Regions from separate parts of the Homo sapiens genome. Here region 2 is linked to region 1. The links are contacts of gene promoters, found by promoter capture Hi-C in blood cells and fetal thymus (Javierre and others, 2016). All regions are on one chromosome and are shown on one strand. The core of a region is centred on a gene start or on the middle of the fragment in contact, and the rest is flanking DNA. Distances in the headings are between cores, read along the strand shown. Region 1 holds the start of CLCN5 (chloride voltage-gated channel 5). Region 2 has its middle 17 kb from the start of AKAP4.

The links. Contacts are between HindIII fragments. The CHiCAGO score rates a contact against its expected background, and 5 or more counts as called.
Region 2: a fragment that was not itself captured here is called in contact with the fragment with the promoter of CLCN5 in region 1 in 1 of 17 cell types (naive B cells); the score reaches 5.3 in naive B cells.

The regions. Positions count from the first base shown.
Region 1 is chrX:49,920,710-49,924,630 of GRCh38, forward strand. It overlaps CLCN5 (chloride voltage-gated channel 5), which reads left to right and starts at 1,887. Exons shown (of 15, transcript NM_001127898.4): 1 at 1,887-2,083; 2 at 2,698-2,773. RefSeq lists a silencer at 2,149-2,198. The HindIII fragment of the contact is 4,286 bases long and covers 1-2,650 here.
Region 2 is chrX:50,182,144-50,186,064 of GRCh38, forward strand. No RefSeq gene overlaps it. Among named protein-coding and RNA genes, the nearest start is that of AKAP4, 17 kb to the right of the region's middle. The HindIII fragment of the contact is 1,316 bases long and covers 1,441-2,756 here.

The sequences.
Region 1 (3,921 bases), core at 637-3,136:
CCAAAATTGGGCCCCAATTTACCTTCTGGGTATTATCTTCCACAATTCCCCTGTACTTCCTTACCCTAAACTTCAACCACATAGGACTACTCACGGGTCCTCACATATAACTTCCTGCCTGCTCACCTTTGCCAACGGTGTTACCTCCACTTGGATTTACCTTTATTAGAGGCCTGTACTGATATTTTCTAGTTATTTGTGGCTATCCCATACACCATGAGTGCCTGAAGGAAGGGACTGAATGTTACCAGCTCAGAAAGCAAAAAAATTTTGGACTGAAAAAATAAAAATCCGGCCATTCATCAGGCCGGAATAACACACAGATAAAACCAGATGCAAATTTAACAGAGAACAATATTTCTTTGGCGGACATATTGCAGCTGTAAAGTGGTAACGATGTTTTTATTTCAGTGACCACCACTTTTTTATTCACTGAGAGACTTTGTTCTCTAAAATCGTAGATTATCAGAAACTTTTCTGCTTGAAATCGTATCAGTAAGAATGAAACATCCCACATGCATCTGGAGGACATAAGTTTCTTTGACACAGAGAAGCAGCCTCAATTTCCAACCCAGGTGCAGAGCTTCAGATAAGGGGTATCTGGACACAACATTCCACATCTATCTTTATTTTGTGGTTCCCAAGGAAACACAACTCTGGGTTCACTTTGCAGTTCAGACCTGATGGTGACCCCAAATGACAGTACTGCTTTGCTTTGAGCTTACCAAAAACACTGCTTTGTTTAAAATTCACCTAAACTCCACTCTTCTCTCCAATCCTATAATGACTCCATGTTTTTCTGTTTGATGAAATGCCTACCGTGTGCAGTCTCTCATATTGCAATGGGTCAAAGCCTGACTATGTCGGATTACAAATTTGTCCCCGGTAGCCTTATGCTGATTGGGCTAGGATAGGGGTTTTTAAATCCCTGACCACTTAGCTTGTCCAAAGTAGGCATTCCAAATTGTTCACTGCAGTAGAGTACCCTGGTTCTAGTTAGATTACTTGGATTATATGGATTCCAGTCTCAGGTCTGCCAAGAACTAATTAGCTGGATCATCTTAAGTGAGTCAGTGCACCCCATTTGGCCTAAGTTTTCTCTTCTGCAAAACGGTGTGCTGTTTCTTTCAAACCTAGGGTAAGGGCTTTGGAGTAAGTTAGACCTAGGTTGGATTCCCAGTTCTACCACGTACTAGTCCTGTGACTTCAGCTTTTCTGAGCCTCTGTTTTGTAATGATTAATATGGAGATAATACAGTACTAACAACTGCAGTATAGTTTTTGCAGCGTTGCTGGAAACATCAAGTTGGCTGTTAAAAGTATCACTACGTTTGATCACTATTCCTATTCCTACTATTATATGAGTTTAGACAAGTTACTTAACCTTTCTGTGCCTGTGTATTTTTATGAGTAAAAATGGAGAAATAACCCTCGGGGTTATTGTGAACACCAAATGAGACGAAAAAAGTAAAGGGGTTAGGAGAGTGCCTGGCACATAAGAAGCAGCTCAAATTATGTGATCTAATGTTATTAGTATTAGATTTCTACTACTAATTACTCTGTGGGCCGAAAGCTCAGGATAGACAGTTTCATTCTAAGGACAAACCTTCTCCCCAGCAAAAAAAGGCACTGCAAGCTGGAAATAGTGAAACACAATGGGGCATTGCGTTTTCAAAGGCAACTGACACGCCCAGCACTGGGATAGGACCCGCCCGCCCAGTCCTCATTAAATATGGCAGCGAGCGGGGCCGACGTACTGCGGCTGCGCAAGTTGAAACTCCTCCTGGCAGCTCCTCCCCGGCGGGCCTCCCCTCATCTCGGCTGGGTAGAGGTGCCGGGTGTGAGCTCGGCGTGGCGCGCACGCGCAGACGCTGGCTGGGCTGAGCCGATACTCGCGAGGCGCCCTGTCACATGAGCCGCGCGCCCGCTTCGCTCCCCCTCCTCCCCGGCTGGGCTGTGTGAATGAAGCTCTGCCGGCTACGTGGGGCGCTCACTCAACTTGGTGTCCTGGACGCCAGAGCCGACCGAGCGCGCTGCCCACCGGCGGCGGACACGGGCTCCGCCGCTCCGGACCTCGGCGACAGGTAAAGGCAAACGGGCTGTCCCTTCCCCAACAGGTCCTTGGCGGGCCGCTGGCCCCCGGCCCACCCCCGGAGCACCCCCTAAGCGCAGCGACACAGGGGAAGCGCAATCCCGCTGGCTTGGACCCCCGGAGATGGGGCTTCCCCGCGCCCGGCGTTGGCAGCCCGGCGCTTAGAGGAGGTAGACAGGCTAGTTCCAGCCAGTGCTGAGCGGCGTCTTCCCGGGAGCCCAGCCCTGTTCTCCGAGTTATGGTCCCTGGGTTGCCCGAGCGAAGTTTCCTTGCGGAGCGGCGCCAAGCCCGCCCCGCTTTTGAATCGGAGTGTTTAGCCGCCTGCGTCCCCTTTCCCGGACTGGGGTAGGGTGACTTAGGCTGGCAAAGCTCAGCCGAGGCCCGGCTCTTCTCCCTCCGGCTCTGGACTTGCCGCTGGTTTTGTATGGGTCTTAGCAAAGTGGAGAAACTCTCGGAAAAGTAGTTGCTGCGCTGTTTTCCTTTTGCCACTTAACGCGCGTAGCTGGTTCTCTCCAGACTTTCGAGCCTTGCTCTTGAGCGCCTTGATCCACACGGGAAAAGCTTTGCCTTTACATTGACGCACGTTTCCTTTGATTAACATTTCAGAGCAAATCAGTTGCCTGGAGTTCCCAGTGAAGTTGTACCTGTGCCCGTGCGATAACGTCAGTGGAAGCTGCCCCGAGTAAGTGAGGGAAATCTAGAAGTTTGGAGCATAAAAAACCAGCACGAATCAACTTTACATAAACTTCATACATTTATTAGCAACTGCTCGGGTTTAACTTCAGGGATGTTAAATTTCGCCTAGTCCCACGGGACGATGATCATTACTTCTTAACTGCACGCGAAATAGGAGAAGAAAAAAGGCAAATCAAAACAGACTGTCCCAGGTCTCAGAGAAGTCATCGGAGCGCTTTTTCCTGCTGAATTCACCCTAGGAGTTTGTGAGTTCCTAGTTTTCTTGGACTTCGCGAACTTTTCCTTGTCCAAAGCACTGTCTTTTCTCTGTTGGTGTTTTGGGACTGGTGTACACATTAACCCTTTTGTCATTAAAGAAGGCCAACACGATTCTCAAGCTAGTATTAGCCTTCAGTGTTTGTGCTTTAGCACTTTCACTTAGGAGGTGGAGGTGTTGGTTGTATAAAAGATATGGAAATAACAATCTACTTTGATGTTCACCAGGTCAAAAAGGTGAAGACTTTTAGAAAAAACAGATTGGCTTGTATGCTAAGTAGGGAAGACCAGTTTATTAACTGAGATCTTGTTTAAATGGGCAAGCAGAGTGTTAAGCCTCTAAGTCAAACTAAGTCGTCAGACCTCTCATTTTTTCTCCCATTCCTAGCTCCTATTTTTTTTTTTTTTTTTGGTTTGAGCCGGCTCTCGTTCTGTCGCCCAGGCTGGAGTGCAGTGGCACAATCTTGGCTCACTGCAACCTCCGCCTCCCTCCCGGGTTCAAGCGATTCTCCTGCCTCAGCCTTCCGAGTAGCTGGGATTACAGGCGTCACTTGTAATTATAGTGCACCGCCATACCTGGCTAATTTTTGTATTTTTAGTAGAGACGGGGTTTCACCATGTTGGCCAGGCTGGTCTCGAACTGACCTCAGGTGATCCGCCTGCTTCGGCCTCCCAAAGTGCTGGGATTACACCGCACCCGGCCCCTAACTCCTTTAATATCTTTGCAAATATTGTCCTAGGACTGGATTTGAAGTTTTAACAACAGGAATTAGCTGAATTAATTTGGTTTTCTTTAAACTGGTATTCCATTTTTACATTTTTCTTCTTCTTTGGTTCATTTTCCCCCTGATTATAAAAGCAATATACGCTCACTATAGG
Region 2 (3,921 bases), core at 849-3,348, 260 kb after region 1:
TTTCAAATGGCTCAGAAAAATAATGATAATTTTATATAATAATAATAATTATTATATATATGCACACAATTTTAGTCATTTGTGTGCCAGATAGATAAAGCAAGATGGCAAAATATGAACAATTGAAGCTAGATGAAGGGTATATGGGTACTTATTATACTGGTGTTACAACTTTTCCATAAGTTTTAATTTCTTCAAAATAGAACGGAGTAATATGACATCACTTGGAGATATGTAAAATATACATGCTTGTTTTGCAACCCCAAACAAAGGAATTGAGAATTTATCTGGAGTTGGGGTGGGACAGATGGGCTGGGAATCTGTATTTTAAAAGTTGCGGTATCCTAGCGAAGAAACACCACTGAGAGAACCTCATCTCACACCCTCCTCTACCTCCTCTGGTCCTTGCCGTCTTCCAGGATCCAAACTCTGGCACGAGTTCTCTTTGGCAGTGTCCCAGCTAGGCCTGTCCACCCACCCTCTGTAAAGTGGGTGCAGCTAGATAGTGGGGCTTGTGGGAAGAGCAGCAAAACAAGGATAGATCCTGGGTAGGTCAACAGTTATCAGATGGGCAGAGAAAGAGGGTTCTCTGAAAGAGACTGGGAAGAAAGGGCCAGGGAAGTAGGAAGAAAACCCCAAGATTCGACTCAAAGGAGGATGGAGAGATATGACAAGTCACTCTAGGTGTGCCTGCTTAGAGTTTGCATCAGGATGGGGATAACTAAGTTGTTCTGTCATTTCAGAAGTGGACCATTTGGTTGCAGAGGAGATTTTCCTGGCAAGTCCTCCCTTCCCTTTAGCAGATAGTTTGTGCCACAGGACTCATTGACAAAGGCATCCGAAGTCTCCAACAGGAAAAATTTCTTTTCCAAAAGCAGGGCCTTTGGGAACGAGATGCTGTCAGCCACTGAGAGGAAAGTTAGCAGATCAGGGTGTTTTATTTTACTTTCCTCTCTTGCTGAGTTCTGGGACATGATTTATCTTCTATTGGGAGGTGCTGTGTTAAGCCACGTCAAGGTCATTAAAAATATATGCATTTGGCATTTGGAGGTCGGGGAGAGTTTGGAGTCTGCCTTCTACTGTTTCTGGCATCTGATGGTTGTGACAGTGGCAAATAAAGGCCTGGAGGCCAAGTGTAACCTTAGGGAAGGAAAATGAAAACCTACCACCCTTCTCTTCATCAATTGTCTCCATCACAGCTGGGGTTTCTAGTCGGTCATAAGGGGCACTGCTCACCTTCCCCATCTGCCCCCCAGTAGGTATGTTAGTTCAGCTCTGGAATCTTTTAACATTTAGTGAAGTCCATTTTAAAAAGGAAAAATGAAAGGAACCAAAAAAAAAGCAGAAATAAGCAAAGGAAGTAAAGAACAGTTAAGCAGCACATGGCTCGCTCCAATGTATCCTTCCCATAGCAGACTGAGTGAGCACTCCAGAACACAAAGCTTACTCTGAAACTGCAGAGCTCAAACCCTTCAAGTGGTTTCTCCTTGAACTTAGCAGTGAATCCACATAGTACTCTGATGCCAGCTGACTTTTCTAGCCTTGTCACCCTTCAGTTCCCCTTCACACACTTTCTACTCCAGTGCCATGTCTCCTGGATTCCTAAGCAAGCCATGCCTTTATTCACCTCTGACGTTTTGCACATGGATGGGCACCCACCAGCCACTCAAGTGTGGTGGTGAATAGTACAGAGTCAAGTCTCATTTTGCCTGGGCGTCATCCCAGATGTAGGCAACTTTCTGATCCTCTGTACCTTCATTTCCTCAGTTGAGAATTGGGGCTACCAAGAGAGGCACCTTGAGGATTAGATGTGACAATCTGTGAGAAGAGCCTAGCAGAGGGCCTGGCTCAGCACACAGTTAGCTGTTACTTAACAAACATTGATTGTCTGGGTGCCCAGTAGGTGGGAGGCCCTTATCTGTTCATTTGTTACAAGCTATTTGTAGTCTGGTGGAAAGGCAGACATGAAACCAAGACATTATAAGACAGTGTGATCCAGTGGCGCTGGAACTGTGTGGGTTTGTACCTTTTCTTCAGCTGAGCTCGCCCCAGGTGTTATCTAGAATTCAACTCTTAGCCAGGCCCGAGACTTGAGGAAGATAAGAGAAAGTAAAATACTTCCACCCTGGGAGAGGCATTTCAGACTTGAGGCACTAGCACAGCCCCACAGCTATTCAAATGTTGAAATCCTTTCCTACTGATTGGCAAGTGCCCTGAACACCCCAACTGCCTGTAACCCCTCCTTTCCTTCTACTTCACACATTCTGGCGTGCATTGGTCGGATACCATCAGAGACTGTCCTTGTCTCCTGCCAGGGTGCAAGGGTGCTAGCCTGTCTTGTTGCTCTTTAGCTCTGGTTCCCCTCAACCCCCAACAAGGAGCAGCCCTGAGCCCTCTGAGCAAATGCAAATTCCATACTTGTTCTGCGAGGCTACATTTTCAACATTACATATGCTTCTCCTTGGGGATATTGCCTGCTCTGAGTCCCAGGAGCTGTATCGGCTTGCTTTGGGGGATGCCCAGTTCAGCCTTCTTCTGGGCTATGGTCTATGCCAGCAATATCCTTTGAAAACCTCTGCCTGTCCACCAGGGGAGATTTCTTCCAGCTAACCATCCACTCTACTGCAGAGGTTCCTGTCACCTCCTAGTTGTTCCTACTCCATTCTGTCAGTGTTACCTGCACTATGCTAGGATTTATCCTGACTTATGATGTTATGGACAAGGTCCTGGTGTCCTGTGAAGTAGTATAGAGTGGAAGCTTTGGAGCCTATCTGTGTTTTTCAATCCCAGCTCCAGCACTTCCTAGCTCTGTGACCTTAGCAAGTTACTCAGCCTTTCCAAGCCTCTGTCATCTCATCTGCAAAAAGGGATAACAGTAATACATACCTTATAGGGCTTTTGGGAGGATTATATAATACTGAAAAGCATTTAGAAGAATGCTGACTCACAGTAAAAGCTCAACAAATGTTAGACGTTATTATTATTGCTATTATTATTATTTTGTATTGAAGCTCTTTTTTTTTTTGAGGAAGGTCTTGTCACCCAGGCTGGAGTGCAGTGGTGCAATCTTGGCTCACTGCAGCCTCAACCTCCCGGGCTCAGGTAATCCTCCCACCTCAGACTCCTAAGTAGCTGGGACTACAGGCAAGTGCCACCATGCCCGACTAAGTTTTGCGTTTATATAGATGGGGTTTTACCATGTTGCCTAGGCTGGTGTTGTACTCCTGAGTTCAAGCGATCCACCTGTCTCGGCCTCCCAAAGTGCTGTGATTAGAGGCCTGAGCCACCGTGCCCAACCATACTGAAGCTTTAGTGGGCTTCATTTAGGTATATTTTCAAATATAATTGCCTCTTTTGATGTACATAACCGTTCTAATGAGGTAGGTATAAAAGACTATTGGTTAGAATCCCAATTTTTGAGGTAAAGAAATTAAGACTTGGCTATATGAAGTGAGATGGCCATGGTTAATGACAAGTTTTATGATTTCCCGTTTAATGTTATTGTTCTCCACCAGAAGACACTGAAATAGATGGATTGTTATTTATTCAATAAATATTTATTGAATGGCTACTGTGTGCCAGGCATTGTGCTGGGCGCTGAGGGTACAGTGGTGAGCAAGACAGACAGGTCCCTGTGCTCCTGAAGTTACCATTTTAGTGGAAGGGGACAATCAATAAGCAAGTAAATAACAATAAAAGGTATATATCAGTTAGTGCAATAAAAATTAAACAGGGCAATGGGATACAAAGTAATTAAGGGAGATAAGGTAGTGAATGAAGGAGGGTTTTTCTGGGGAGGTGACTTTCATGACAAGTAGATGAGCTGGAGACCTTCTCACCTTGGATATGTAGCTAGGTTCTGGGAGAGAAGTCCTCATGAAGAGGGGATTTCCAAGGTCCTACTCTGGGCCACCATAGACA